Regions from separate parts of the Homo sapiens genome. Here regions 1, 2 and 4 are each linked to region 3. Evidence: promoter capture Hi-C in 16 types of primary human blood cells and fetal thymus (Javierre and others, 2016). All regions are on one chromosome and are shown on one strand. Each heading gives the region's core, a stretch centred on a gene start or on the middle of the fragment in contact. The rest is flanking DNA. Distances are from core to core; before and after follow the strand shown. Region 1 has its middle 7.3 kb from the start of CST3. Region 2 holds the start of CST9L (cystatin 9 like). Region 3 holds the start of CSTL1 (cystatin like 1). Region 4 has its middle 7.3 kb from the start of CST4.

What was found. The method cuts DNA at HindIII sites, captures the fragments that hold promoters and counts their contacts. A CHiCAGO score of 5 or more calls a contact.
Region 1: a fragment that was not itself captured here is called in contact with the fragment with the promoter of CSTL1 in region 3 in 5 of 17 cell types (M0 macrophages, fetal thymus, megakaryocytes and 2 more); the score reaches 7.0 in M0 macrophages.
Region 2: a contact is called between the fragment with the promoter of CST9L here and the fragment with the promoter of CSTL1 in region 3, in 4 of 17 cell types (M1 macrophages, fetal thymus, M0 macrophages and 1 more). The highest score is 8.5, in M1 macrophages.
Region 4: a contact is called between a fragment that was not itself captured here and the fragment with the promoter of CSTL1 in region 3, in 1 of 17 cell types (M0 macrophages). The highest score is 5.4, in M0 macrophages.

The regions. Positions count from the first base shown.
Region 1 is chr20:23,627,639-23,633,654 of GRCh38, forward strand. It overlaps a transcript of CST3 not described here. Among named protein-coding and RNA genes, the nearest start is that of CST3, 7.3 kb to the right of the region's middle. The HindIII fragment of the contact is 348 bases long and covers 2,273-2,620 here.
Region 2 is chr20:23,566,926-23,573,281 of GRCh38, forward strand. CST9L (cystatin 9 like) reads right to left here and starts at 1,559. Exons shown (of 3, transcript NM_080610.3): 1 at 1,286-1,559. The coding sequence starts at 1,525. The HindIII fragment of the contact is 6,864 bases long and covers 200-6,356 here.
Region 3 is chr20:23,438,016-23,444,191 of GRCh38, forward strand. CSTL1 (cystatin like 1) reads left to right here and starts at 1,670. Exons shown (of 4, transcript NM_138283.1): 1 at 1,670-1,791; 2 at 2,129-2,471; 3 at 5,919-6,029. The coding sequence starts at 2,253. RefSeq lists enhancers at 3,909-4,008, 4,411-4,990. The HindIII fragment of the contact is 9,312 bases long and covers 1-5,316 here.
Region 4 is chr20:23,678,890-23,684,522 of GRCh38, forward strand. No RefSeq gene overlaps it. Among named protein-coding and RNA genes, the nearest start is that of CST4, 7.3 kb to the right of the region's middle. The HindIII fragment of the contact is 674 bases long and covers 2,975-3,648 here.

The DNA.
Region 1 (6,016 bases), core at 1,197-3,696, 190 kb after region 3:
ACCATTTTACATTCCCACCAGCTATGTATAAAGATTCCAATTTGTTATTTGTGGTCTCTTTGACCACAACCATGTAGTGGCTTTGAAGCTGCTTTTTACTGTGGTTTTGATTTGCCTTTTCCTAATAGCTAATGGTGTTATGCACGTTTTTATGCGTTTATTGGCTATTTACATATCTTCTTTGGAAAAACGTTTATTCAAATCCTTTGGAACTTTTAAATTGGTTTGTTTCTTTAAAAACTTTGAGTTATATAAAAATTAGGTTATTTGCCTTTATTTTTAAATTGGTTTTTTTAAAAAGAATTTTTAATTGGGTTACCAGTCTTATTGAGTTGTAAGAGTTCATTATATGTTCTGAATACAAGTTCTATATCAGATATATAATTTGCAAAATTTTTTTCCTATCATGTGTGTTGTTTTTTTTTGTTTTTGTTTTTGTTTTTGGGAGGGGATGAATTTAATTAGTGAGTTGTTCTGGCCTATTTGAGGGTTTCCTGAGTTCAAATCAATTCCATTTATGAGAAGTCCCGGGGGATCCCCAAGAAATTTGGTTGGTACTGGGGAGGTGCCTCATGAAGATAGAAAAAGGATGTCCAGATTGATTGCTGATTTCAATCCCAGGGGCACAGCTACACTTCTGGCTGACCACAGCTTAACGATGAGCCCGATTATATCTCAATAAGGGAAGTTACAGCCAATTTCTCCTTGAACACAAGTCCATTGCAGCATCTTCAGAGGCAGGGCCAGCCTCTATTTTTCAGTCATGGTGACATCTGTGGTCCTTGCATTTTTAAGAGTGGCCTGCTACTTGTAAGGTCCAGGGGGCAGGTCCTCCACTTTCTGCAAGCTGGTCCTTGAGGCATTACTTCTGAAACAGTCAAGAAATGTCATGGGACTGTGGGTCTGAGAACCGACTGATGAGTTATTTTTGTCTGTCAGTGAGGACAGACAAGAGCACAGGGCTGGAAACCCAACCCAACTGGCCTGGTGGTTGGTTCACATAACTAGGAAGTTCAGAGCAAGGGCGGGCATCAGGCTCTGCTTGGTGCAGGGACTCCATTATAACCCACCTGCTCCTTGCTCTCTGTTTCTCTCTCTCTTTTTCTGAGACACAGGGTCTCGCTCTTTTGCCCAGGCTGGAGTTCAGTAGTGAAATCATGGCTCATTGCAGCCTCAAACTGCTGAGCTCACGCAGTCCTCCCGCGTCAGCCTCCAGAATAGCTGGGAGTGCACCACCAGGCCTGGTTTCCTTGCTGTCTCTTCAGTTTTGTTGCTTCCCATAACTTGGCTTCATTCTCAAACAGGCTCCAAGTGGGCCCCAGACCTCAAGTCTTTTTTATCTTCACACTCAGCAGGGAAGGAAGAACCCACTTATCACACAGTCAAACAAAATCCCACCGTTAAGCCTATGTGGGTCCTGGGCAGCCACACATAGGTCACGTGTTGTCCTCATGCCAATCATGAGGCTTCAGGGGAGGGAGACCCGCTGCCCTGACCAGCTTAGCCAGGGTCAAGTGCTCCAAGCTGTGGTCCAAAGGGTAGAGTCAGCTTCCCTGGAAAAAGGCGGAGTGAGAGGGGAGGAGGGGTGAATCCTCACGGGGAAACTGCTATTGTTGTTGTAAGAAGGTGGGGCAGTCATGGCTTGTGAGTCAGACGCTGGCCGCTGGCCTCAGAGGTGTGTTTGGTAATGATGCCTCCATGCATACAGCATGAGCTGCCCAGTCAGAGAAGGCACAGAGCCTGTGGGGTAAACACTTCCCAGCATCATTCCCTGCCTGGTAGCCATTCAGGAAAGGCAGCATTTTCCTCAGTCTTTTCATCAGGGTCCTGGATTTGGGTAAAATAAATAGATAAATAAATAACTGTTGCTATTAGTGATCTCAAGTCCCTCACAAAGAAGGTGGTCCTGTTCACTAGGAAGGCCTTTGGTTTATAAGCACCTTGATGGGTGTGGGGAAGTCTACAAAGAGCTGAGTGGTTCTACCCCACAAAGGAGCCTTTGGACTTGCTGAGGGACTCAGTGGAGAGGATGCGTGGACAGATGGGGAATGCCACGGCGAAGAGCAGGCAGGGGAACAATCAGGCCAGTGACTGGTGGGGGGGGGAGGGGGTGGAATGTGAAGGTCAAGTGGCAACTACCTTTGGGAGGGAAGCCAAGGGCATTTCAAGGACAGAAATACCCAGTGCTGGGTTTGAGGAAGTGGGGGTTACTGTTCCACAGGGCAGGAGGTGATTTCCTGAAATCACCGACAAATTTCATTGCCCCAAACAAAGCTTTGGTGGAAGGAATTTCCGTTTGCTTTTGCTTTGTTGAGTTTCATTTACTGGAAATCAAGGGCTACACGTTTGCAGAGATACCTGGCACGGAAAGTGTGTCCACAGGCAGATGTGACCATGAGACTATCTTTACCTGCTGCAATTTGCAGATGTTTTAGGAGCAACTGGACTTTGACCAGGACTCTAATTGAGTTATAGTCCAGTGGTTCCTTGGGGAAGCAATGGGAGGAGTATTTAAACATCCAATGTCCACGTCCCATCCCAGAACACGATCAACTTTTCCGACTGGGATCATGGGATTGCCATGTGCAGCCAGGCTCCCCAGTGACGCCATGTACAGCCAAGCTTGAGACTAGAGTTCAGATGAGCCTGACCTGGTCTCAAGGGAGCCAGAGCCCCAGCTGATGTCACAGTGGCCTGAGCACATCTGACTCGACCCCATAAGCCTCAGGTGACAGGATTTGGAAGTGACCCACTTGGCATCCCAGCACCAAGGGTGAGAGCAGGTATGGGTAATTAAAGGAATGTCTGTTCCCTATTTTAGTCACCATTGTGTTCATGGCTTCTCAGTGTTGTGTCTTTGAGCAGTGAACTCAGACAGCACAGCAGAGCATAAGGAGAGGAAGGGGTGACTAGCTGCTGTCTTCCTGGGCCTCGTCTCTCCAGCTTCGCCCTGGAGTTATGGGACAGGGCTGGCGATTTGCTCTCTCTACATCTTTTAGGGAGGCTTGTGGCCTAGTCCAAGGTCACTCCCGTCAGCCAATCATAAGCCAGCTCTCCTCTGTCTCTCACAGCCACATGGGTGGCAACATCCCAAGCCTCTAAGTCCATAAATAATAAACCACCAAGGCAGAGTTAAAAAAAAAAAAAAAGGCAAACTCAATAGTCTTCTATTGAACTATTAACTAGTCTATCAGTAAAGACTAGAGGTACAATACTTGGAAATATCCCTGACCAAAATATAAAATATCCAGGAATAAATTTCACAGAAAATATGAAAGATGCATAAAATTTATTCTACTGAATACCATCAGAAAAGCAGGAAGGTATTGCAAGATGCATGGTATTCTAAAATGAAAGGCTCAAATGTTAAACGTTGTCAATTTTTTTTCCTAAAAAAACATAATATTTCTACTTATTGAACCTGAAAAAACAGTTTCATTTGGAGGAAGAAATACATTTAGAAAACAAAATTTTGGGGGAATAAAGAATAAAGATATAAAAATATTACCTAAAAGATACAAAAATATTATATTTAAAATGGAGTAATTAAAAAAATGGAAAAGAACAAGCCAGATTTAGGACTGAGATCCTGAAACTGACCTATGGTTATGGAAATCTGCTGTGGGTGTCAGCTGGAGCGGCTCTGGGCGGTCTCCTGTGGAGACTCCATCTTGGATGCCAATGCTGAGCCTCAGTCCCATCAATGCTTCTAAGATTTCTATTTCATCTGCTGTTTACTGTAAATCCAGCCCTTAGGTAAATTCCTTCTGAAGCTCCTATACCTTTTCCCCTATGGCACAGAAGCCCAGGGTCTGGGGGTAATGGGGTGGCGATCCACTGTCTTGCAGCCACGCAGGACACGGCTTCTGTTCCCAGGTCCCTATTACAACTTTCTTTCTAAGAAACTAGACTTGTCAGCCTCTCTTCGGCCTCTCAGCTCCCTGGGCCTTTGAGGGTAGGTGTCTGCAGGCTTGCCATCGAGGAACACCCCGCCAGCCTGACCGTCCTGGGGAGAGGGATCCTTCTGCAAAGGCTGGCTTCCTTCAGGACAAGAATGCTAGGGAGCTCAGAAGCTACTGGGCCCTTCCTGATCCCACCCCAATGGTCACCAGCAACACAATGCAAGAGGTGTCAAAGCACTATGTTATAAAGCCACCAGTGTAGAACCAGATCAATGAAAAAGCCTCTCCAACTTACTGTGTTTATTCAGAGCCAGGCCCTGTAATGAATCTATTTATATGGATAACTGTAGATGAAGTATATACTTAAATCAACATTTAAAATAAATGTAAAAGTAACTCTTGCAGATGAAAGGTGCAAGGGCGAGGCCTCCTCTCCAGGATGTGCTGGTCACAGTGACCTCTGGGTCAGAGGGGCTTCTGGCTCACTGGCCTCATGGGGGCCCAAGGGAGGCATTTACAGGCCCGCCGGCTGCGGAGGGGAGGCAGGGGTGGCACCAACCTGCTTCCCTGTGGGCTGTGGGCCATGGGGCCACCGGGCGGAGGGCAGGGAAGGAAGCAGACACACAGGGAGGCTGGGGAGCCCTGTGCACAGCCCGCCCCCAACCTCAACTTCCCCAAGGAAGAAGTGTGTCAGAAAAGGCACTGGGCTATATGGTCAGCTGTCCGTTTCCACTGGGTGCCTGGATGGAGGTTGCCTGTGTCAAAGATCCTTCACCGAGGTAGAAAACCAGGAGCACCTCCCTGCAGGGACCCTTTACCACTGACCACAACCACCACTTCTATCCCCCAACCCCCCACAGAAAACTGAGTGACTAAGACCACCCACCCCCAGCAGGGTGAGGCCCAGACTCAAATCTCCTCAGCTCATGGCATCCTAGGGGGTGCTACACTTCCCTCACCCCAAAGACCCTGTTAAAGCAAGTCAGGGTGGAGAGGAAAAGGAAGCAGACGCTCCCCACTCTCCCTGCCGTGTCCCCTGCTCTGACTTTGCAGGGACAGCATGTGGGGTGCTGGCCTTGGCGCTACTGGGGTGGATTTTCCTTCATCATTTCACCTTCAGTGTTCATGGCAGCAGCCAAAAGAGGGGGTCAGTGCAGCTCCGAGGTTGGAAGGTACCTGGGAGGCCTGCCCCAGCAGCACTGGCTGTAAGGGCTGCACCCCTGTCCTAAAATGGCAAAGGGAAGGACTGTGCAGGGTGGGCTGTGTCTTAGGACTGTAGCCTCCTGCTTGTGGCACAAAGATCCACTATTCTATAGGATAATGCTGACATGAAGGGAATGTTCTCTCTTAATCCTCCTTGGAAAAAGAAGAGTCCACTGCATTGTCGGTCTCATTTGTGCTTTAACTTCATCCCTACCATGAAGCTGGACTAACAACTTGTTTTAAATCCAAGTCCAGAGAAAGGGCTGGTGGCTATGAGCCTGTAAAACTCTGGGAGGACACAGCCTCCCAGGATGGATGACAGCAGGTGCCACTTTCTCTGTGATCTTGCTGGTCTCTGGTCTGGCTGGCGTTTCTCCTGCTCAGTTACACAGACAGGCTTTTTGGACTTTGTTTCCACGTAGGGGCCTAAGTCTCTTGGAAAGAAGCACGCATTGATCACTATTTAGTGTCTAGGGGATTTGATGAGAGCAGCTCAGTCCCTGGGGTCTGCTCAACTCTGCAAGCACAGATGGAATCTATGACCTGGCGAGCTCCACCGAGGCCTGGCCCCTGTCTATGGACACAGCCAGCTCCCTCCTCCTGGTCTGACCAGCAGCTCAGACCAAATCACCAGCCCAGCTTCTGGGGGCAGCAGCTTGGGCCCCTCCTCTCCCTGACCCCCTCACCAGGGGCTGCTGTGGCTCAATGCCTTGTTTCCCAGCCCCTGGCTGCTCTCCCTGCTCTGAGACTCAGGACTCCTATAGCAGCAGCTTGCCTGATGGCCTTGCTGTGGCCGCGTCAGCTCCCAGGTACTCCTCTCATCTTCACACCAGCAGGACAAGGAGGCTTCATAAAGGAACTGCGGAAACCCTGCCTGTGTGCACATCCCCAGACAGCCAAGAACTCAGAGG
Region 2 (6,356 bases), core at 309-2,808, 130 kb after region 3:
TTGCAAAGTGCACCTTGATCTTCTCACTCCTTTCAGTTTCACTTCATTCCATCTCCTTTCTCCCTATCCGTCCATTTCCCCAACTCCAAAACTGACTCTGGAATTGTCACATCCAGGAACCCACGTGGCAGGCTCCAGCCCAGAGAGCAGGGGTCAGAGAACCAGCCAGGGCCTTGCACAGGGTCTTTCCAGAGGCTGAAGCTTGGTGCAGGGTTGGGGTCCTTTTGCTCTTCTTGCAAGGTTTCAGTAATGAGGTAGGAAGAGCATTTTTGCCTCTCTACCCAACTAGAAGTCCTCAACTTAGCTGGGTGCAGTGGCTCATGCCTGTAATCCCAGCACTTTGGGAGGCCGAGGTGGGCAGATCATGAGGTCAGGAGTTCAAGACCAGCCTGGCCAACATAGTGAAACCCTGTCTCTACTAAAAATACAAAAAATTAACCAGGCATCTGGCGGGTGCCTGTAATCCCAGTTATTTGGGAGGCTGAGGCAGGAGAATCACTTGAACCTGGGAGGCGGATCTTGCAGTGAGCGGAGATGACGCCACTGTACTCTAGCCTGGGTGACAGAGCAAGATTCCATCTCAAAAAAAAAAAAAAAAAAAAGTCCTCAACTTGGTGACTATTTTCATTGTTCATGCCTACAGCACAGATGAACTGTGCATTCCTGATTGCATTCTGTAGTGACTTCATTAAAAGGAGAACATTTAGGATTAAGACCTGTGGTCTGAGGAAGAGTGTGAAACAGTCTTCAGTTTATTAAGTGCAGACACACCAAGGAGCTCAGAGAAGTTGGAAATCAGCAAAGAGGAACTGACCACCCAGAGGTCTTTTGGGACTGGTGGGGGTTTCTTATTGCTCCTGAACCCTTACTGTTCTCTTTTTTAATTTTCATTTTTTAAATTATCTCTTTTTTATTACATTTTTTGGAAGTATTTCTCAATTTCTCTCTATTCACATTTTCTGTTCAGCCCTTTTCCTTATTCCGTATCTTCATTTTCTTGGTAGTCCTCATTTTGAAGTCATTCTTCAGTTAAATAATGTCATAAAAAGATGGAGATTAAACAATATGTTTTTCATGAGAGTTGATTAGGATCAAATTATTTGAAATTTCTAACTTAGATGTTTTCAAAATCAAAAACTAACTAAACTACCTTGTATTTTCTTAAGTATGGACTACAACTGGTGAACAAGACTCTTCAATAAGACCCCCTGTCCCCACCCCACTCCCATTTTTCACTGAGCAGCACATGCCAGATGCCAGGGCAGGAGGGTACGTGGTCACCAACCTGCTCCTTCCAGGAATTCAAGATGTGCCCCAGTCTGTAGGCATAGTAGTCCTTGCTCTGTTGGTTGAATGTGTGGACAGCAAACTCCACTGTGGCAGGGAGGTAACGAGCCATGACATTGTGTTCATCACAGTCCCTTTGCTCGTGGAAATGCCAGGCATAGATCAGCAGGATCTGGGAGCCTAAGAGAAGCAGCAGCAGCGCCCAGGACAGACCTCCCTTCCACGGCAGGCCCAGCATGGTGCTGACTGTAGGCACCGCTGACTTTGCTCTTCCCAGCCCCCGTGCCCACAGGAGTTAATTGAGCACAGACCCAGCCCTTAATCTTATCTGCTCAGACAGCCCTGTGGGACAAACTTGTCTCACCCCACACTGGCAACAGGCACTCCTACAGGACAGGAAGGACAGGATCCTGGATTAAAGGGAGGCAGCTCTGGATGTGGAGTCACTCATCTGCCATCCTTCTGCCCTATACTCTCTAGGCCAGCACAAGCCACAGGCAGGAGGGGAGCTACCCTCTGCCACTAGCTTTGAAGGCTGCTCCTTCAGAACCCACAGGTTCTGGTTGTCCTCAGGTGCTTGGTGTCCTTGGATGATTCTGTGCCTTCGCCTCCCACAGCGAACTGAGATAAGACCTGGGGACATCTCGACTCTCACTCTCCCCTCCTTCACCCCGTCGAAGAGAGGATCTCCGTTGTTCAGAAAAATAACTAAGATATCAGTTTGTTCTTTTGTTGTATAATACCTCAACAGTTGTACTCTGTGAACCAAGGGAAAAAATGAAAAAAATAAATGGCAATTTTTATCAACCATTTTGACCTGGGATGGACAATGAGTATTGTGAGAAAAGGGCAGGAAAGACAGAGACCCAAGTCCTGAGGCCCCAGCCTGGTCATGCCCAGCCCAGCCCTGCTTGCATTTCTAAACCTTGTCAGCCCTGGTTCCAGCTGAGCCAGAGCCAAGGTTTCTACAGGGCCCACCGCCCTACATCTGCAGCCCCACCACACACACTCATGTTTTATTAGACTGGAATATCATTCTAGACCAAATTTTTAAACACTTCTCTGGGAGATCACATGTTTCTGCCTCAGTGAGATAGAGGTTGGACCATTCTTCAGCCCCTTGATCATTTTTGTCTCCATCTGACCATCCTTCTTGGTGTTCTAGAGTGAGCTATTTTGCCAGCACTTAGGTGATACTAGGTGGTTACTTTTAAATCAATTTCCTGGCAATAACTAACCTGAAAGAGGAAATAATAATATTTTGTTGCTGTAAGAATGAACATTAAATAGTGCAGGACAGGTGAAGTATGCAAAAGTGAGAGCTTTGAGTTTGGCTGAGAAGACTATGGTGCTGCAATATAGGCAAGAACCTAGCATTGTTGCCAGATAACAGAATAGAAAGTTCAGTCCCAAGTCAGGGAGACTGATTCTACAAGAACTGTTCTGACTGTGTCCCATACCATGTTCCCAGATCACAGCAGGGCCAGGCCTGGGAAGAGCATCACTGCATCTGTCCACACTAGCACAGCACTGGCCAGGTCAAGACAGCTGCAGGTGAAGAGAGTCATGCTGCCTGACCCAACACTGGGGTGGTCCCGAGTGTCTCCTCACAGGAGACTTCACCCATCACAGACAGAAGAAAGTAGCTAGTGTGTGGGGAGCTGCTGCCCAGGAGCCATGTGCATCTTGATCTTCTGCCTTGACTCCAGGAAGTGGGTGACACAGAGTAGCTGAAACCTGTGTCCTGATTAGCAATGATAACAGGTGAAATCTGGCCCATTGCGTTGTTTCATGGGTTGTTTTTTTTTTTTTTTTTGACGGAATCTCTGTTGCCCAGGCTTGAGTGCGGTGGTGTGATCTTGGCTCACTGCTGCAACCTCCGCCTCCCAGGTTCAAGAGATTCTCCTGCCTCAGCCTCCTGAGTAGCTGAGATTACAGGCGTGTTGCACCATGCCCGGCTAATTCTTTGTGTTTTTAGTAGAGATGGGGTTTTGCCATGTAGGCCAAGCTGGTCTCGAACTTTCCTGGCCTCAAGTGGTCCTCCCACCTCAGCCTCCTAATGTGCTGGGATTACAGGCATGAGCTACTGTGTCCAGCCCCCATTGCACTGTCGAAATGTCACTGGTCTTCTGGATCACACCCAGCTGACCCATTCTTCTCATATTTATTTAACCTTGGCAAACAAACAGCTCAACCACACAACTATTTGCAAAATTATTTGTGAGATCTACTGGGTTGTGAAAGATTTTCACATGAGAAAGATTTTCAATCAAACACAACTCACAAGTCAAGGGATCCATGACACAAGATTCACACTTTCCTTTTCACTTGGCAAAGTCTTGCTTATAATTGTGAAGCAGAAGCCAGCACTGCAGGATTCCTTACCACTGCATGAGTTACACAAGAATGAAAACTTCTCATGGGTTCCCTAAAAACTGAGATTGGAAAATGACATAATAACAACAAAAATAATGGTGCAAATTGACATAGTTATATCTCATAGATGTGTCTTAGGTCTTTTCAAAGACAAGAGATAGGTCAAGAAAGACCTGAGGTGACCCTGAGCTTGCATCTCTGCCTGACTTCCAATCTCAGCACAAGCAAGGAACCTTGGCTAGGACAGAGGTGTGAGTGGCCTACGCATTGAAGGTGTGCCCCAATACACACACCAAGTGGGCTAGTTTTGGAAGGGTGTTGTTGTTGTTGTTACAGTTGTTTAGTGACTTTGACCACATGTAACAAGTAACACACTCTTCACAGAAATAGTTTAGAAAAGTCACTAAACAAAGACACAACTACAATCCACAGCAAGCAACAACAAATCTTAGGGAGAAAGCAGACTCAGACTCCTGGAGTTAACACAATTTAATATTTAAATAACCAGTTTTCCAAAAAAAATTATAAGGCATACAAAGGGACCTGAAAGTAAGCCCCATTTACAGTTTTCTTTGTGGTGCAATGCCTTTTCAGCTTGATGTAATCCTGTTTGTTTATTTTTGTTTTTGTTGCCATGATTTTGAGTTCTTACCTAAAAAGTCTGCCCACACCAATGTCCTGAAATGTTTTCCCAATACTTCTAGAAGTTTCATAGTTTCAGATCTTAAATTTAAGCGTTTAATCAATTTTTGTTTTTTTTATATATATAGTGTTTTATATATATAGTGTTTTTTTTAATGTATATATAGTGAGAGGTAGTGGTCTAGCTTCACTTTTCCGCATTATGATCATCCAGTTTTTCCAGCAGCATTTATTGAAGAGACTGTTCCTTTTCCAATGGGTTTTCTTGGCGTCTTTGTTGAAAATGAGGTGGCTGTGAACATGTGGATTTATTTTTGGGTTCTCCATTCTGTTCCATTGGTGTATGTGTCTGTTTTTATGCCAGTGCCATGCTGTTCGGTTACTGTATCATTGTACTACAATTTGAAGTCAGGTATATTTTGATGTCCCCCGCCTTGTTATTTTTGCTAAGGATTTCCCTGGCTATTTGAGGTCTTTTGTGGTATTATACATATTTTCGGATATTTTTTTTGTCCTTTTCTGTGAAGAATGTCATTGACATTTTGAATAAGGATTGCATTGAAATTGTAGATAGCTTTGGTTAGTATTGACATTTTAACAACATTAATTCTTCCAATTTATGAGCATAAATATCTTTCCAGTTTTTAATTTCCTCTTCCGTTTATTTCATTAATGCTTTATAGTTTTTTTGTAGACATCTTTTACTTCTTGAGGTAAATTTATTTCTAATTATTTTATATTTTTGTAGCTACTGTAAATTTGATTGCATTCTTGATTTCTTTTTCAGTTTGTTCACTGTTGGTGTATGTTAGTGCTACTGATCTTTGTACATTGATTTTGTGTTTTCAACTTAACTGAATTCATTTAGCAGTTTTAATAGTTTTTTGACAAAGTCTTTAGCTTTTCCCAAATATCATAACATGTCATCTGTGAACAAGGATAATTTAACTTCTTCCTTTCCAATGTGGATGCCCATTATTTCTTTCTCTTGCCCAGTTGCTCTGGTCGGGACTTTGAGTACTACATTGAATAAAAGTGGTGGAAGTCTTGTTCCAGATATTAAAGGAAAGAAATATATAACAAACCCACAGCCTTTATTTTGGCCTTCATTTTGAGGTATGTTCCTTTAAGCCTGTTGTGTTGAGAGCTTTTATCATGAAAAGATGTATGATTTTTGTCTAATGTTTTTTCAGCATCTATTGAAATGACCATATGGTTTTTGTCTTTGATTTTGTTAATGTGATGTGTCATATTTACTAATTTGCATATGTTGACCCATCCTTGCATCCCTGGAGTGGATCCCATTTGGTGATGGTGAATGATTTTTTTTACGTGTTGTTGTATTTTCATTTGCTAGTACTTTGTTGAGGATTTTTTTTCTTTTTTTTTTTTTGCTCCTATGTTCACCAGGGGTATTGGCCTGTAGGTTTTTATTGTTTTATTGTACCCTGAACTGGTTTTGGCGTCAGAGTAATGTTGGCTTTGTAGAATGAGTTTGGAAGTATTCTGTTCTTTTTTATTTTCTGAAATAGTTTGAATAGAATTGATAGTACTTCTTTACATGTTTGGTAGAATTCAGCAGTGAAGCTATTAGGACCTAGGCTTTCTTTGATGGGAGACTTTTTAGTACTGCTTTGATCTTCTTACTCATTGCTGATCTGTTTAGGTTTTCTGTTTTTTCTTGGTTCTTCTTGGTATGTTATATGTATCCAGGAATGTATTCACTTCCCCTAGGTTTTTTGCCATATATTTGTTCCTAATAGTCTCTAACAATCCTTTACATTTTTGTATTATCAATTGTTATGTCTCTGTTTTTGTTTCTGATTATATTTTTTTGAGCATTCTCTCTTTTTTCCTTACTCTAGATAAAGGTTTGCTGATTTTATCTTTTCAAAAGAATAACTTATTGTTTTGTTAGTCTTTTATATTTTTTAAATTCTCAATTCTGATATTTGTTACTTCTTTCCTTCTACTAATTTTGGATTTGGTTTATTTCTGCTTTTCTAATTTCTTGAGCTGCATTATTAGGTTGAAATATTTGAAATCTTAAT
Region 3 (6,176 bases), core at 420-2,919:
CTGCCCCTATTCCATGCTGTAACCAAGCTCCCTGTCTCCCTTTATACATGTACCTTACCAGAATCATATTTTTTTCCTGATTCCATGTCCACAGAGTCAGAAATCAGCATTTTGCTGACACAAGCTAAGGAACGCCAGTGTGACCTGTTAGGCGCCTCACATCTCTTTCTGTGGCATAGTCAGGGTCTATGTTTTCCTTTTCTTCAATTAAAATTGCCAGTGACTCATTTTCCTCTTTATGGACACAACCAACTCCCATATTTCTTAAGCAGATTTATTGTTTATGCTTTGAGCCCCACATCCATGGGGTTTCTAATATGGCCCACCCAATGTTATTTTTCCTCTCTATGGGCCTCAGCCTGATGGGGGTATCCCAGGTGTCTGGGGCATGCTGAGACGGCACAGGTCTGTGTGGCTTCCCGGATTACTCGGAATCCTTCATTATCTATTCTACAGCAAGTGGCCCTCGGCAGCTCAGGCTCAGGGAATTTCAAATGTATCACCTCCACCGGCTGGACAAGTCCTCTCAAGACAGGCTCTGGGGCCAAGGGAGGATGTTGTGACTGGTGCTAGCAACATTGTCATGATGGAAGGTGGCCTGGCTTCCGGGACATGACAGGCCATGGGTGAAGTGTGGGTTCAGAGTCACAGAAGAATCACGAAGAAGACATTCTTATGCACCTGACACCTGACTTGGGAGCAGGTTCTTTGCCTACATCCAGTTAGTCTCTACCACAATTCAAGTGGAGTCTTTCTCCCCATTCTCATATTACAGGTGAAGAAACCCAGCTTAGGGAGATGAGGTAACTCTCCCAGAGTCCCCAGCGAAGGACTTGAGCCAGGACAGTTGGATCCTAAGTCTCCTGCTTCCCCTCCCTCAGCACGCTACTCCTCACAGAACAACGCTTTATTTAGTTTTGGACATTTTAACCTTTATTTTGGAATAATTTCAGACTTACACAAAGGCTGCAAAAATAGCATAAAGCATTCTCGTATACCCTTCATTCCACTTCCCCAAATGTTAACATATTATACAATCACAGTACAACGGTGAAAACTAGAATATCAACATTCACACAATACTATTAACTAATCTGCAGATTTTATTCACATTTCATCAACTATTCCACTAATGTTTTTTTCTGGTAGGATTCCATTTAAGGTGTTTTTTTTTGTTTGTTTTTTGTTTTTTTTCTGAGACACAGTCTCGCTCTGTCACCTAGGCTGGAGTGCAGCGGCACCCTCCCGGCTCACTTCAGCCTCCACCTCCTGGGTTCAAGTGATTCTCCTGCCTCAGCCTCCCAAGTAACTGGGACTACAGGTACACACCACCACACCCAGCTAATTTTGTATTTTTAGTAGAGATGGGGTTTCACCATGTTGGCCAGGCTGGTCTCGAACTCCTGATCTCTGGTGATTCACCCACCTCAGCCTCCCAAAGTGCTGGGATTACAGGCGTGAGCCACCGCGCCCAGCCAGCAAATGTTTTTAAAATAGGGCATTCATGGGCTTTTGGGGGTAAGTGACACCTAATCTTCAGGGGTCTGCGGATAATTTCTAAATGGGGCTCACAGTTTATTCCTCCCTCATAGGGAGGCTGCAATTACCTCACAAAGCTCCACTAGGGTCACAACAAGATAGCAAAAGCCAGTGCAGGGCCTGCAGGTATAGGGGGATCCTGCAAGCAGAAATCTGTGGTGGGCGGGCGGCAGGTGAGCAAGGAGAACGTGTCTGTAAAGGAAGCACAGGGAACAGGTGGTGGCTTTGTAAGACAGTTGGAACCCAAGGAAGGTAAGAATAATGTACCACTCCTTGCTCCATATGACTGCTTCCTTATATCTCAGTTCAGATATTACCTTCTCCGTAAGGCCGCCTCCCTTCCTGTAAGTGATGCTTCTCTATCTACAACCCCAGCTCTTATTGCAGAGCACTGTAGGGGCTGTTCTGGGGCTTTTCTTCCCTGAGACATGTGAAGGCAGGGAGAGGGGCTTGCACGCCTTAGCAGGTGTTTAAAAATTTTGCTTGCCTGGATCACCAAAGAACTGAATGGGTGGTGTAAATGGGTAGAAAATGAACTGGCTGGAAACTGAGTGACAAGGTTCAGGTCTGAATCTCTGTTTAAATGCAGGCAGGCCATCCCCCAGGAAAGCCTATGTTGGTGAGGGTTATGATGGGAGAATGAGTGAACTGCAGCCTGGCACCACCACACCCTGGAAGGTGCAGTTGGGAAGAAAGTTTCTGAGGCTGTAGACATGGGGATCGGATGCTGGAGAAACCCCCTGCTGCTGCTGATTGCCCTGGTCCTGTCAGCCAAGCTGGGTCACTTCCAAAGGTGGGAGGGCTTCCAGCAGAAGCTCATGAGCAAGAAGAACATGAATTCAACACTCAACTTCTTCATTCAATCCTACAACAATGCCAGCAACGACACCTACTTATATCGAGTCCAGAGGCTAATTCGAAGTCAGATGCAGGTTTGTACCTTGCTCTCCCAAGACATCAGCAGGCCCTGTTCTTGCCAGTTCAGACATGTGAGGATTCTGGGGTAGCTCCCAAGAGAACCAAGTGGTGGTCCTCCGTGAGGTCCCAAGGGGGAAGCATCTTCACTTGTAGCAGGTACATTGTAGAGTTGTTCAGATCCCAGAATGTCCTTAGCCATGCTTCCAAAATGCTTTCCTAAGGACTGGCATGAACTCTAACTCCAATACACTTAGAGGCAAAAGTGTTCACTGAGGATTAAACTCTTTTTTTTTTTTTTTTTGAGATGGAGTTTCGCTCTTGTTGCCCACGCTGGAGTGCAATGGCATGATCTTGGCTCACTGCAACCTCCTCCTCCCAGGTTCAAGTGATTCTCCTGCCTCAGCCTCCCAAGTAGCTGAGATTACAGGTACGTACCACCACACCTGGCTAAATTTTTTGTATTTTTAGTAGAAACCGGTTTTCACCATGTTAGCCAAGCTGGTCTCGAACTCCTGACCTCAGGTGATCTGCCCACCTCGGCCTCCCAAAGTGCCGGAGTTACAGGCGTGAGATACCACGCCCGGCCAGCTCTTTTTCCTTGGGAAGAAATGCCTTTCATTCTGATATTTGACCCTGCCGGAGTGACAGCAAGGATAATTTTGCTCCCTTTAAAGTTCTCATTTGGCAAAATACAAATATTCTCTGTAGGCCTGTAGCCCCCAATATTTTTTCAATGTGTAGGGTTGTAAAATTCAAAACTGGGTGTTCTGTGTTATACAAACTTCAAATTATACAGAGGGTTTATTCTGGAAGTGGAGAGGATGTGAGAGATAGGGTTCAGCCAGATCACCTCACCTTCTGTTTTACATATAAAATTTCTCTGAAATATATCAATTGAAGGATAATAGAAGAAAGAAAAGTTGTTAGGGAACCCCTTTTATTGGTACAACATTTCCTCAAGGTCAGATAATAAACTATACAGTCCCCTTGGTGTCCATGAGGAATTGGTTCCAGGACCCCTCAGGATGCCCACATCCATGGATTCTGAAGTCTTTTATGTAAAATGGAATAGTGTTTCCACATAACCTATGCACATCTTCCCACATATGGTAAATCATTTCTAGATTAATTATAATAAGTGGTACAGTGTAAATGCTATGTAGATAATTATTATACTGTACTGTTTAGGGAATAATTACAAGAAAAAATGTTCAGTATACAGGCAACCATACATTTTTTTTTCCTGAATATTTTGATGCACGGTTGTTTGCATCCACAGATATGGAGCTCGTAAGTACAGAGGGCTGACTGTAGAAGTTGGGGCAGCAACAATGCTACGTCCTAGTTCAATTAGCTAGATTTGGGAAAACACAACTGGCTATGGGAAAGCTCTCTCGCCAGAGAGTAAGGCAGCTGGAACAGAGAGAACCGGCAAGGCGGGAGGGCAGCGTGGGGAGGACCAGTCAGCATAGGTCAAATCCTCATCCCAATGCAGACTGTCCCACAGGCTGGCTCAGTGAGGCACTTCTACCACAAGATGGCGATGTTGCCCATTTGGTTCTTGGTTCTTCCACAATTGGTTAAGACCCCAAGGAGGCTTGCCTTGTGAAATCAATCCATCACCATTAAGTTAGCTGTTAAGGAATAATGATGAGCATTTGATGTCATTCACATTGATAAGCAGACAGAGCAGGCGTGCCTCCTGGTAGCTGGGTGATCTTGGCATGGGCCTCTGGGCACCCCCACACCCATATGACCATTGTGTCTGTCCTTACACCTCACAGAGGGGACAAGAGCAGGCGTGGAGGGCTGCCAGGTGCCTCTGGGGGCTTCACGCCCAGCTCCTCCCAACTGAGGCTCCTGGTCAAGTGACATCCAGACTCTCCAGACCTCAGTTTCTTCACCTGCAAAGTGCCTCAGAATAGGAGGGAAGCACTTAGCACAGTGCCAACATCTGGTAGCACTTATAAAAAATCTTTGCTGTTATTATGACTACTCCTGTCATTATCGAACAAATAAGTCTAATAACGAATAACACTTTGCACACTGGAATGTCAGTTACAGTGATGACGGGTGGTTTAGTTTTTTCTTACATTCTGAGCATGCTGAAAGTCAGTGTGACCGTGCCTGGGGCAGCCCTGCAAATGCCCATGCATGGATGGCCCCCACATGTTTGGGTGCGGGGAGGCTGGTACTGCCCTCAGGTCTAGGCTCCCTGCTGCCCTGTCCCAGTGTTTGCTAAGGGTGTCTTCCTCCCAGGAGCAGTGTGGGCACTCTCTGCCTCAGTCACCACCCCAGAGATGACCAAGCCCTCTCACTGGGCTTGACCAGTGACAGGGCAAGGCAACAGGGAGCTTCCCAGAGCTTCTCCTGCACCGGTGAAGATCCACTAATCCACATATCTACTCAGGAATCCAGCTCAGAACCCGACAGGGAACCGTAACCCCCAAGCTCTCTGTTAGTCTCCCTTCTGGGCGTAGGGCCTCCCTGCCCACAAGGGCTTTTCCAGGCTCCAACCCCTGCAGGCTTCATGGCCTCACACTTGATCACAAGTGAAAGAGCCATGGGGAAATCCCTGGCATGCGTTCTCCATGGCTCGTGTACCCACCATGCCTCCTTCCTTCATTTCTGTACACGCTAGGAGGAAACTGGCATTATTCTCCTCATTTCCTAGATGAGGAAACTGAGATTCAGTAAAATTTACAGAGTCTGCAGGGGGTAAAGCCAGATTTTGTGTTCTGTCACTCTCCTAACACTGAATCTGCTTCAAAGTAACACTGCAGACACTTTGCTAAAAGATGTAATAACTTATAATTATGAAAATATTTAAAATTTATTTTATGCATTCAGGGAAATGCAAGCTTCCATTTAGCCCACATAACAACTCCAGAAGCAGGCACAATTGTGGTTTGTAGTTTGTAAGTGAAAAAGCTGAGGATGCTAAGTAACTTGCTCAAGGTCACAGTCACTAAATGGAAAATGCATGCCCCAAATCAATTCGATTCCAAAACTGTTTTTAACTGTATTGCTAAGCTGCCTTCCACTAGGTTGGTCAGGAAGGATAGTAGAGACAGAGGAAATGGCAGAAGGGACTGGGGGGGTGGGGACAAGATGCTGGCTCTGTTGCATTTTGAAGGCCACATCTGCCAGCCTGGGAGTGGCCTGTGGTGGCCAGGCAACCCAGCTTGATGTTGCCTCTTCTGTCCTGAGGATGGAACAGAGGCAGGTGAGAAGCTTTCTGTGGCTGCTGCAGCAAAACCAACCTATGACCAGGGGCTTTGGCTGCCATTGCCCTCCCTCCAGCCAGAAGTAAGGAGAAGGGAGCCATGCTTTTGGTGGGTAAGCTCCGCGAACAAGAACTGTGGCCCTGGGAGCTTTACTCTCAGTCCTAGCTTCTCCAGGAGAGGGTCAGCCACTGGATGCTTGGAGTCCACACTAACAGCACAACTGATTCTCGGCAGCTGACGACGGGAGTGGAGTATATAGTCACTGTGAAGATTGGCTGGACCAAATGCAAGAGGAATGACACGAGCAATTCTTCCTGCCCCCTGCAAAGCAAGAAGCTGAGAAAGGTGTGTAGTGGAAGTCATCCCAAAGGGACTTGTGAAGTGAATATTTTAAAAAGCAACAGCTAGAAGTTGGCAGTTTTGCCACTTGTGTGGATTGGGGCCAGCTGGGGCCCAGCCCTGGGGCTGTCTGGCACCTCCTGAGGCACCTGG
Region 4 (5,633 bases), core at 2,062-4,561, 240 kb after region 3:
CTTCTCATCTGTAAAGCTATCTCTGTTTCTAATTTTTAAATTTACTTTCATTTGGAAGGGATGTTTTTGTTTTTTCCTTTTCTCCCTTGAGAATGTGTATAATGTGTGCTGTGTAGGGTTCAACTTTGGTTCTGGGTGCTTTCATTGTCAAAGGTTCTGTGTATGTTCCTTGGTTATAGGTAGTCTTTGTATGGTGGCTTCCTTAGATGTTGGTTGTAGTAGTGGTGAAGGGAGAAATGAGTGGGTTCACTGCCTCCTACATGTCCAGTATGGCTGAGGTCTCAGGAAGTTTATCTCATTCTCCAGTGCTATGCATTTCTGTCAGCAGATTTTCTATTAGATTGTGCCATTTATTTTCCAATCCAGTGGGTGGTGCTTATGGATAAGAACCAGCTAAGGCTGATTCAGATGGGGCATATACTTGATCTTTGTTTATGGCGAGATGCTTTCTGCTGCCTCAGGCAATGGGCTATGTTGTGGAATGCACAGTGGTGTGAGCTCCCTGTACAGTCCTGGACTGAGGGACCAAGCTGGCTTGGGCCAGAGAATGCAGACATGCCTACATGTCCACCAGTGGTAGGTGCAAGCACTATCTCTGAAGTCAGATAAAGAGGCAGCTGCAAAACATCCAGAGATGTGCCTGGGTATGGAGGGGATAATCCTCTGCTGCCCAGTGTTCTCTGCCTGGAAAGGGAGTGGTAACCTACCCTCCTAATCTAGAAAAGCGAGTACTCCACATGCATGAAGATACGTCCAGGCATGCAGCACAGTGGGTGCTGCTGATTCAAGACCTATGCACCTGAAGGGAGGGGTGGCTGAGGCTCCTAATCCAGGTGAGAAGGTTCTCCAAATGCCTGGGAATGTGCCCAGCATGGAGTGGAGAGGGTGCGTCTGCACCAAGATCTCTGCATGAGAAGGGAGGGGAAGCTCAGGTTCCTATTCCAGGTAAGTGGGTACTCAACATGCCTGGAAATATCCCTGAGCAAGACAGAGACGGCACTGCTGTACCAAGATTTCTGCACAGGACAAGAGAAGTGACTCAGGGTTCCAGTCCAGTAGAGCAGGTGCACTGAGTGCTTGGAACTATGCCCTGGAGAGGAGTGGAAAATAAAGACGCACTAAGATCTCCGCATTAGAAGGGAAAGGCAACTTATACTCCTAATCCAGGTGAGGGGGTGTACTGAATTCTTGAAATTATGCCTGGTTGTGGAGTGAAGAGGGTGCTTCTGCACCAAGATGTCTGCACAGCAATGGAGGGGTGACCCAGGATCTTAATCTAGGTGAGCAGATGGGCCAAATGCCTGGAAATATGTCCCTCAGTGAGGAACAAAAAAATTTGCTGCAGAGTGGAGAAATGGCTGTTGCAAGAAGCTCTGTTCATGGGAGGGGTGCCAGGCCCTTATTTCAGGAAGTGGAAGTGTTGAATGCTGGGAAATATGCCCAGGCTTGGACCTGAGGGGGGGGTGTTTTTGCTCTGCCAAATTATTTGCAAGATAAGGGAGCTATGAACCACACTCCCCATTCACACCAGCAGCTCAAAACTGGTGGGACACACCTCCCAACTGACAAAGGGGGCAGGCTGGGGCACCCAGAAATGACACCCACACACAAGTCCATGACTGCATAGCTGTTCCTGGCCATAGTACCTATCACTCAGGAAAAATTGTGGCTTCAGCAACTCTCTTTAGTATGGATTTCTATTTTTATTTCATTTTGTCTTATTGGTATTGATTTCTATTTTTATTCCACTGTGGTCTGAGATTACAGTTAGTATGATTTTCCTTTTTTAATTTATTGAGACCTGCTTCATGGCTGAGCATGTGGTCTGTCTTAGAGCATGCTCTGTGGTCCCATGAGAAGAAAGTATGTTCTGTGGTTGATGGGTGGTGTATTCTGTAGATGTCTATTAGGTCCAATTGGTCAAGTATCAAATTTAAATCCAGAATTTCTTTGTTAGTTTTCTACGTCAATAATCTATCTAACACTGCCATTGGGATATTGAAGTACCCCATTATTATTCTGTGACTAATTCTTTTTGTTGGCCTGGGCATACTTGTTTATCAATCTAGGGGCTGCAATGTTGGGTGCACATGTTTAAGAATAACTAAGTCTTCTCGTTTAATTGAACCCTTTGTCATCATGTAATGCCCTTCTTTGTCCTTTCTAAATTGCTGTTTTGGGATTAAAGTCTGTTTCATCTGATGTGAAAATAGCAAACCTCTCCCTTTTGTGTTTTCTATTTGTGTGATAGATCTCCCTCCAACCCTTTTTGTTGAGACTATGGGTGTCATTATGTGTGAGATGGATCTTTTCAAAGACAGCAGATGGATGGGTCTGGGTTTTTAAATACAACTTGTAATCTGTGCCTTTTAAGTGGGTCATTTAGGCTGTTTATAGTCAAGATTAATATTTTTTGTTTGTTTGTTTGTTTGTTTGAGACAGAGACTTGCTCTATTGCCCAGGCTGGAGTACAATGGCACGATCTCGGCTTACTGCAACCTCTGCCTCCTGGGTTCAAGTGATTCTCCTGCCTCAGCCTCCCAAGTAGCTGGGATTATAGGTGTGCACCACCATGCCCAGCTAATTTTTTGTAGTTTTAGTAGACACTGGGTTTCACCATGCTGGGCAGGCTGGTCTCGAACTCTTGACCTTGTGATCCACCCGCCTCAGCCTCCCAAAGTGCTGGGATTACAGGTGCGAGCCACTGTGCCCGGCCCAAGGTTAATATTTATATGTGAGTTTTTGATCCTATCATGAAGGTGACAGCTGTTTTCCTTGTAGTATGTATTGTGTTGTTGCTATCTACTGTCTCTGAACTATGCATTTAACTGTATTCTTGCAACAGTAGGTGTTGTTCTCTTATTTCCATCTTTAGACCTCGTTTAAGCATCTCTTGTAAAGCTGGTCTAGTGGTAACACATTTTCTCAGTGACTGCTTGTCTGGAAAAGATTTTTTTTTCTTCTTTGCTTATGAAGCTTAGTTTGATGGGATAGGAAATTTTGTTTGGAATTTATTGTCTTTAAGAATGCTGAAAATAGGCCCCAAAAGATTGGGTTCTTTCGACACCTAGTCAAAAATGAAAGTGTTATCCTCATGAAAATGTACTCACTAATATGGTATGTACAATAGTTAGTGTATCATGAAGTTTGTTTTTATTTTATGTTATTTCGTTTTTCATTTTACCCAAGTGAGACCCAAATTGTTTTATTTTTTACAGGAATTTAATGAGATAGGATTTCTTGACTTTCACATTTGTAGGGTGCAGAACTGTGTAGTGAACTGCTCACAGCAAGGATGTATGCCTGTGAGGTGACACAGACCCGATGGATCAGACTTGGCCTCCATCCTCCTCTTATCCTGATGAAATCTGACAGCTCCAGACAACACAGATGTAAAACTTTGACCAACAGTAAGATGGCTTGAAGAAATACTTCTTTCAGGACAAACTCTTTCTGCACATTCCATAAGGTAATCAATATAGGATATAATTATACATTTGCACAATTTTGAAGCCCACTACAACAATGAGAGTTTTAAAATGCTGTGATTAGTGATCATTGTCAATAGAGTCTTAACGATCATCAATCTTAAGTCAAGAAAATTTAGAAAGTACTAAAATCTTAGTGCTCACATGAAAGAAAACTGGAAGCTTTTCCAAATTAGACAACAACCAGACAAATTTGCATAATATTACCAATGTGAGTTTTGAAGCAGAAAGAAAATGTTATAAACCATGATTTTCACAAGTAGGATTGATTGTAGTATTTCATAATTTTGGATGATTGTAGTATTTATCAGAATTTTAAAGTGATCAAACTGAGTGGAAAGACTGGTTTACCTTTCTGCTATATTTATAGAAAATTCTATTATAAAATCAATGTCATGTGATGAGGCAAATTGTGACTCAATAGTTGACTATGAAAACATAGAAATAACTTATTACACTGCTGTGTCAAGTAGCTAATTAATAAAAATGCTATGTTAGCAAGTAAAAAGAACACAAATTTAGGAAGGGCAAATCTGCCCTTTCATCTGCAAGGTGCATGGATGGACTGATGAGGACAAAGCCAATGACATCATGAACAGGAAACAATGTTTCTCTCAAGCTGCAGGTTTGAAAAGTCAGGAAGCCTCTTCCTTGGCTGAGGACTGCTTTCTGACTCAATGGAAGACCTTATTCTCTAGTGTCAGGGGCTGTCAGAAACTTTGCTTATGAGTAAGAAGAACATCCCACTGCCTGGATGATCTATATCCACCTTTACACAGAAGCACAGAGCTACAGAGAAGGGGTTTCTGGATGGAACGTTCCACATCTGGCTGGACTTTATGGGTTCTAAAGACACAGGACCTAGGTCCACTTTGCAGACGAGACTTGACACTGGCTGCTTTACACTGAGGCCTGCCATGCTCTGAGTCCATCACTACAGCCTCAAAAATCCCTCCCCACAGTCTTATAGTAACCTCTTTGCTTTGTTTTTTGAATCATCCCAGATATCTTGATGTGAATTTATTCCCTTTTTGCAATAAGCCAATAATCTTGAGTCTGTTAACTGCAAAATCAGTTTTGATGACTGATCGCACTAGGATGTATATCATTTTTCTGGAATTTGGGATGATTGTTGTATTTATTAGGACTTTAAAATGAGTAATTTGTTGTGACTTATTTCCTCTTCTTAAATAAACACTAACTTCTGTGCTTAGTTTCAAATTGGTTATATTATGCTATTTTTCATGCAGATAACCCTCTGAATTATGTAAGCCTCAGACCTCACGGAACCTGGGTTGTCTGTGGTCATAGTGCTGAGAATCCACCTGCCCAAGGAATGACCGCACTTGTTCCTGCTTCCCAGGCCTCCATTGGATTTATCTCTCCTTCCAGAGTGATTTGTCTATGCTGAAGGTGGAATTTCTAACCTCTGTGGTTTTACACTTTTAGCAAGAATATGTGACATTATTTTTGCTAAAGGAACTCTTAGAAGGGGTGCAATATTTCCAAAACATGACCCTTAGGAGACTTTTTTACTCCCAAAACCCGGTAGCTTCCAGAGAGAGCCCAGATCCTCAGCTTGGTGCAGAAGACAAAGACCCACATGCTCACCTTCAAGCTTCGCTGTCCCCTGCTCCCCACCTAGGGAACAGACACACAGGGAGATGGTGGAGGGAGCCCTCTACAGAGCCAGACTTTCCCCTCCACTTCCCCAGGAAGAGAGAAGTCAGAAAAGTTACTGGTTTACAGAAAATCACCTTTTCCTTGTGTCCTTGGATGGTGGTTGCTTATGTCAAGACAGACCCTCCACCAGGTAGAGAACCATGAGGATCTCCATGCAGGGAAGACTTTGCCCCTAACCACGATTCCTGGGCACATGCTGTTCTGCTCTCAGCCCCTCTTTTCCAACAGAAGCCTGAATCAGTGTGTGCACCCCCCGACCCCCCTACACCGGGTGAGACCCAGACTCAATTCTCCTCAGCTCATGGCCTCCTGGGCGCTGCTTCACTTTTTTCAACCCAAAACCTTGGTTAAATCCCGTGGGGGTGGAGGGGAAATGAAGGAGGTGCTCCCCACTATCCCTACCAGATCATTCTCCTCCTGGCTTTCTATGTGCGGCACATGGGGTGCTGGCCTCAGGGCTGT